Linked DNA regions of Homo sapiens: region 1 is linked to region 2. Evidence: promoter capture Hi-C in 16 types of primary human blood cells and fetal thymus (Javierre and others, 2016). All regions are on one chromosome and are shown on one strand. The core of a region is centred on a gene start or on the middle of the fragment in contact, and the rest is flanking DNA. Distances in the headings are between cores, read along the strand shown.

Region 1 (3,632 bases), core at 431-2,930, 520 kb before region 2:
AAGTCACTTCAAATCTTTCTTGAATAATATCAGAGTATGAGTGAAAAAAATCACTGTGTACAAACATAAATGTAGCTGGATCTTCATCTCACCCCTTAAGACCTAGATAATCTTGGTTCTCATCCTCTTGGCCCATCCCATGAGAATCATTTCTGAGCTCCACTGCCTGGACATCTCTAGGTCATTGATTTTGTTAGGTACATTTTCTACTTCCCCATGACTGCAGGTGAGAGTTTTACAGAACTTTTACTACTATATAACAAGGGTCTCCTTCCTCCAGATTCCACTAGTGTTTCTCTCGCTTTCTCATACACTGCACTGACATCTTCTGGAACACCTTTAGGCTTCCATCCACTGCTCTGTCCCACAGCCAAATGCCCCATGTTTTATGTTTTTGTTATAACTGCATCCTACTTCAAAATCTGTTCTAGTTATACTACTGTGAAAAAAAAAACTACCCTAAAGCAGTGATTTAAAACAATAAAAGTCTTATTTTATTTCGTGATACACCTGCAGTTTGGACAGAGCTCAGTGGAGATGGTGTGTGTCTGCTCTAGATGGGTATCTCCTGGCAGCTCGACCAGGGCTGCAGCATCAACTTCCAATATGGCGCACCACATGGCTGGCTGGCTGGCTGGGGCCCTCCTGTGGTTTAAGACCTGGTCTTAATATCAGCATAGCATTGCTTCTGCCATATTCAAACATTCTGTTGGTCAAGCAGTCACATATCCCAGATTAAAGGAAAGGGGACACAGACTCCACCTGTCAATGGGAGGAGTGTCAAATTCTGGGGATATTTTTTAAAAGCCTTATATCTGTACTATCTTTAAAAGCTTGGCTATTTTTACCAACTTGGCTCCTGCCTCTGGCCCCAGTGGTCCAGAGGTTTCTCTTTTTCCTCCCTGCCTGCTTTCCAGAAATTTCTAAGGGCATTCCCCTGACTTTATGATGTAGAGCATTTCAGCTTCCTCCAACCTATATCCAAATGCTTGGGGTCTAACTTGTCCAGTCAAGGTCACAATGTGCCCCACCAACTCATAGGCCTGAGAAAGGCTTGGAAGTTTCTGTCTTTCCCTTTTTTTTTTTTTTCCCATGGCCATGTCTGCAAGGGGAGGAGGCAAACAGAGTTTTACTTCTCTCTAACATCAACTATGTTACTTCACCTAGAAACAACTTCAGTCAGCTTTGGTCAAATAGAGTTTTCTGCCCTCTTTCCTTTGCATAAACACATGATCCCCTGACTTCCATGGACTTCTTGGAGTTGGCCTCCTGTTCCTCCTCCTTGGCCTGTACCCTCTTCTGGTCCTCCAGTCATGATTCTGTAAGTCCTTCTTAATTCCCGGCTACCATATTTTCACAAGAGTTGAGAAACCCCACTATCTGTGGCCTAGTTTTCACAAATACAGAGGCATTCAGAAATATTAATACTTTCACTTCCCTTTTCTACTTTCTGGGTGAGTCAGTTCAGACTTTTTGTTCTGGTCCCTGGGAGCCATGTTGGAAAGCCCACATTGGGCCTGAGAGTTCATAGATGTTGACGGATGGTGTGTCAGCCCCCATGGGGCTCTGCAGCCTAGAAAGTAGCAGGACCAGGAAGTCAGCAGGTGGAGGTGGCAAGTGAACAGAGGATGCGTCTTTTTCTCCCTTCCTTTGTCATCTTTCTCCATGTGGGTTTTTATATTTATTTACTTATACTTAGTTTTATTCCAAAACTTCTTTGAACTGGGTCATAAAGCCAACTGCATATTGTAAAGTAGAAGAAACTAAGCTCTGAGAAATCAGGTAAAAAGTGGCAAGTGATAGCTGGTGATGGAACGCTACCTATCCTGGCTTACCCTTTTGCAAATGTTACCTGGGTGAGACAAAGACATTTGAACCCTGAGGTTTCTTGTATTGGTTTTGCTTTGTTTTTCTTGGTATAGACCTAGGAGTGTAATTGCCCGGTCATAGGGTGGCTTTAGTAGACACTGCCAGTTTTCCAAAGTGGGTGTCCTAATTGTCACTCCACTAGCCACGTATGAGTGTTTCAAACAGCATATTCTTCTCAACATTTGATGCTAGGTTTTTTTTTTTTTTGTAGATCTTAGCCATTTTGGTGAATAGATAGTGGTATCTTGGCATAGTGGTATCTCATTGAGCTTTTACTTTGCATTTCCGTGAAAAACAATGCTTTTGAGCACTTTTTGATATGTTTATTGGTCATTTGAGTATTTTGTTATGAAATGCCTGTTATTTTGCCTATTTTTTTAAAAAAAATTGGGATTTTTGTGTTCTAATTACTAGACATTCTTCCTACATGTTCTACATAGAAGTCTTCTGTTGGATATGTGTTGTGAATATCTTCACATATTCTGTGGCTTTTTTTCACTCTCTTAATAGTGTCTTTTGATGAACAAAAGTTCTTAGTTTTAAGTAAGTCTAATTTGTCAGTGGTTTCTTTCATAGTTAGTGTTTTGGGATCTTTTGCAAGAAATCTTTGCCTACCTTAAGCCAAGAAGATATTATACTACCTGCTCTAGAAGCTTTACTATTTTATCTTTCATATTTAGGTCTATGATTCATTTGAAATAAATTTTTGTGTATGGTATGAGGTAGGGTGTTCAATTGCTCCAACAATACCATTTCATGAAGTGACCATCGTTTTCCCCACTGAAATGTGGCGGTGTCTTTGTTGTAAATTTGGTGACCTTATGTGTGTGTTTCTCTTTCTTGTAGTCTCTGTTGATTTATATGTTTATCTTTATGCCCATATCATGTTGTCTTAGTTATTGTAACTTTATATGAAGTTAAAACATTGTGATTCTTTTTCAAGACTCTTTTGGCTAACTTTGGTCTTTTGCATTTTCATTTATATTTTAAAATCAATTTGTCAATTTCCACAAACAATTCCACTTGAATTTTATTAAAATTATATTGAATCTATGAATCAGTTGGGGATAACTTACATATTAATATTTAGTCTTCAATCCACAAATATACCTTTCCATTTATTTTGGCTTTCTTTAATTTCTCTCAGCAAAAGTTCTATGATTTTCAGTGTAGTGTTCTGGAACATCTTTTGTTAGATTTACCTTTATTGTTAGTGGTTTTGATGCTTTTGAAAAGGATATTGTTTTTCTATTTTTATTTAAACTTATAATTTGCTAGTATACAAAAATACAATTGATTTTTGCATATTAACCTTGAATCCAGATACTTTACTGAAGTTACTAATTAATTCTAATAGTTCATTTCTTTAGATTTTCCAAGTATATAGTCATCTGCAAATAATGGTAGTTACATTTCCTCCCTTTTGGGTTTATTCTTTTCATTTCTTTTTATCACCTGATTGCATTATCTAGGATTTCTAGTAAGTGTTAAATGGAAATGGTGACAGTAGACATTTTTGTCTTGTTCTCAAATTGAGTGGGGAAGTATTTAGTATTTCACATTTAAGTATAGTGTTAGCCATAGGGTTTTGTTTGTTTATATACTTCATTATATTAAAAAAGTTACTTTCTATTCTTAGTTTTCTGAGAGTTAAAAATCATGAACAGATATTTTATTATATTTTAGCTTTTTCTGGATCTATTGAAATTATCATATATTTTTCCCCTTTATTTTGTCAATCTGGTGATATACATTTCCTGATT
Region 2 (3,364 bases), core at 153-2,652:
TCCAAAAGGTCAAGACCAGTCTGGGCAATATAATGAGACTCCGTCTCTATAAAAAGTCAAAAAAATTAGCCAGGCATGGTGGCGTGTGCCTGTAGTCCCAGCTACTCAGGAGGCTGAGGTGGGAGGATCACCTGAGCCCAGGAGGTTGAGGCTGCAATGAGCTGTGATCATGCTACTGCACTCCAGCTTGGGTGACCGAGGAAGGCAATGTGAAATACATGTGAATTTTTTTTCAAAGAAACGAAAAAGAAGGAAGAAAAGAAAAAGGAAAAGAAGAAAGAAGGAAATCTGTGGTAGGCAGAATAATGGTCTCCCAAAGATGTCCACATCCTAATCCCTGGAACATGTGAATTTGTTACCTTACATGGCAAGAGGGGAATTAAGGTTGCAGATGGAATTAAGGTTGCTAATCAGCTGACCTTAAAATAGAGAGATTATCTGGATTATCTCATTGGACTCAATGTAATCCCCAGGGTCCTTAAAAGTGGACAGGGGTGGGGGCAGAAAAGGGGAGACAAGGCAATGTGAGTATGGAAAGAAGACAAAATGACGCAGCAGTGCTGGCTTTGAAGATGGAGGAAGAGCCACCAGCCAAGGAATGTGGGCGGCCTGCAGAAGCTGGTGGCTCTCCCCTACAGCCACGAGAAGGAACACAGCCTTCAAGGTGGCCAACACCATGATCTCAGCCTAGTATGACCCATTTCAAACTTCCGACCTCCAGAACTGTAAAATAGTGAATTTGTGTGGTTTTCCTCTGCTATTACTGTGGCAGTTTATCACAACAGCAGCAGAGAATTACTGCAAAACCTTCAGGCGGGAAAAAACAGCACAGGCTTCATCGACTCACACATTCACTTCAATAATACAGAAAACTGTCCAAGGCAAAGCACTATGTTGTGTGCCCTGCTGGGAATGAGGTAGGGAGGTATTGAGATGAAAGTTGTGCCTGGTGCCCACGAAGGTAGGTAATGGACGTGCAGAAAGAGCAGGGAGAGGTGGGACCCAGGGTGGAAACAAGAATGAGGGACTGGCCGGTCACGGTGGCTCAGCTTGTGATCCCAGCACTTTGGAGGCCAAGGCCAGAGGATTCCTTGAGTCCAAGTGTTCGAGACCAGCCTGGCAATATAGTGAAACCCGTGTCTCTAAAAGAGAGAGAATAAGGGACTTTGAGTCCTCTTTGGCCAAAAATATTTCAGTGAGGGTCTGTTTCATCCCTTCTCTCCCATCTCAGAGAAATGGAGGCTACTGCTAGTCTCACTTGCATCCTGGATTAGATTTCAGGACCTTTCCGCCAGTGATAAATGTGCAGCGCCTTAGCGGAACCTCAGCCAAAGCTATAAACTTCAACCGGCCACAAGAGTGTGCATGTGAGGTGACTGCATTTTTTTTCCCTGCCAAACCAGAATTAGCCGGTATAGGAATGAACGAGCATGAAGATTTGAAATTGCTCCGATTGGAAGGAAGCCCAGGTTAGGTTTGGGCACCTCCAAACGCACCCGTTTTAAAGCCACCTGGACTGAGGCGTCGAGCTTTCAGCTCCACCAAACGCTCACCTGGCCTGGCAGCGAGCGGCGGAAGAGCCCGGGAGCCCCTCACAGAGCGCACCGAGCCGGGCGGAGAGCTGAGCCGCAGGCACCCGCGTCTCCAGGATGATAGGCGACATTGCAACAAATCTCTACACCCAGCAGCTCAGGGGGCTCCAAGCAGAGCAGCAAGTTCGAGGATCCGGGCGTGGAGCCGAGTGAGGCCGCAGCCCAGCGGGCCTCGGGCGGTGAGTATCCGAGGCCGCGCGCGCCGCGGGCCTGGGGAATGGAGCGACGCCGGGGGCATCGGAGCCTAGGTTTCAGATGGCCGCTGCACCCCCAGGGACCCCCGGGAAGGGGCAGCCCCAGCCCAAGGCAGGCTCGGGAAAGGCTGCCCGGGCGGTGGAGGGCGAGACTGTGCCGGGGCAGGTGGTAGTGCCAAGGCCGCCGCGGGGGCTTGGGAGCTGCGGGCGGGCAGGGTAACCGGCGGTTCAGGGCAGACCGCCAGGCGGAGCTTGGGGACGCGCGCCTTGCTGCTCAAGCTGGCCGGGGCCCCGCGAGCGTCATCCTGGGCACCCCCGTCCGGCTGGAGAAGCGCGTTCTGCCCGGAGCCCAGCCTCGCTGCCCGGCTGCTCTCTAGGCCCGTTTGGGACTCGAACTGGACAGTGATGAGGCGCAGAGCGGGGGACCCGGGGCTGCGCCTAGGGACTTCGCGGGGTGCGGATGCCTCTCTGCACAGGCTGTGGTGCTGCAGCCGGCCCAGCTTCCCCGGTGGGCTGCTGGCTTCCGAACGCGCCGAGGGATGCGGGGTGCCCGAAGTGGGGATGTGGTCTCGGGGTGCCAAGGGAGCGGGAGCACCGAGCGCGGGTGGGGGCGGGCGCTCGAAGGGTGGGGCGCGAGGCCGGACCCCGCGGGCACGATCCCGCACCCAGGGCGCGCAGAGGCTGGGCCCCCTTAGCGCTTCCGATTGAGGCTCCTCAAGAGAGGCTGAAATGGGGTGAGAGACCGGGGACGGCCATTTCGGGGCTAAACGCTGCCAAGGCCATGACGATGTTTTAGGAGCTGAACTCTGCTTTCCAATTAAGCCATTTTCTTTCTGAGGAAAAGTTGATTCGGGCTCATTAACAAGGATGACTGAGGGCCATTATTGGGGCTTAGAGAGATTCTCCTTTGCCTTGTCTGGCTTCTTTGTTTGCATGTGCGTGCGTGTGCGGCTGTGTGTGTGTGTGTGAGAGAGAGAGAGAGAGAGAGAGAGAGAGAGAGAGAGAAGAGAGGGGAGAGAGGCAGTGTTGGGGGTGGGAGGAGGTAAAACAGGCTTGGGATCCTGCAGGCCTGGGTTCCGATTTGGTTTCCACAGCCTGCTAGTTTAACCTTTCTAAGCTTCATTGCTCCCATTTGATGGCTCAGATTCTTCCTCTGTAAAATGCGGACATTCATGCCAATTGGACTGGAGGAGAAGCCACCAAGCACAGTCCCTGACCCAGAGCGAAGCATGTATGTGTTGAGTCCTCCTAATTCGGTGTGAATTTTTCGGTTCTGTTTTTCTCCTATGCTGTCTGCACCAGCTCAGCTCAGCTCCGCTCCCCAGCCTTCTCCGCGGCAGCCTCTTCAGCCTGCTGGCCGCAAGTGCGCCCTCTAAAGGCCCCAAATGCCCTGTACACACCAGGTGAAGAGCGCGGAAGCGCCTGCAGAGCAGAATTAAAGGTGAAGCCCGCACTCACCTGCGTGGGATGCAGAGCCGCTACCACCACGCTCTGCGTAGCTTTGGGGAAGACTGTAATTTCAATTTTAGCTTCGTGCTTCCCGCTTTCCTTATGTGTAATGAGCTCACCACATGCAAT

What was found. The method cuts DNA at HindIII sites, captures the fragments that hold promoters and counts their contacts. A CHiCAGO score of 5 or more calls a contact.
Region 1: a contact is called between a fragment that was not itself captured here and the fragment with the promoter of SLC16A14 in region 2, in 8 of 17 cell types (erythroblasts, M1 macrophages, M0 macrophages and 5 more). The highest score is 8.5, in erythroblasts.

Annotation. Positions count from the first base shown.
Region 1 is chr2:230,587,533-230,591,164 of GRCh38, reverse strand. It overlaps LOC112268431 (a long non-coding RNA gene), which reads left to right and starts at 1,509. Exons shown (of 5, transcript XR_002959453.2): 1 at 1,509-1,667. RefSeq lists enhancers at 1,352-1,601, 1,762-1,911. The HindIII fragment of the contact is 1,689 bases long and covers 836-2,524 here.
Region 2 is chr2:230,066,962-230,070,325 of GRCh38, reverse strand. SLC16A14 (solute carrier family 16 member 14) reads left to right here and starts at 1,402. Exons shown (of 5, transcript NM_152527.5): 1 at 1,402-1,771. The region is part of intron 1 of LOC107985995 (a long non-coding RNA gene); the gene reads right to left. RefSeq lists enhancers at 1,339-1,398, 1,409-1,528, 1,924-2,694 and silencers at 1,759-2,028, 2,299-2,548. The HindIII fragment of the contact is 4,045 bases long and covers 1-2,905 here.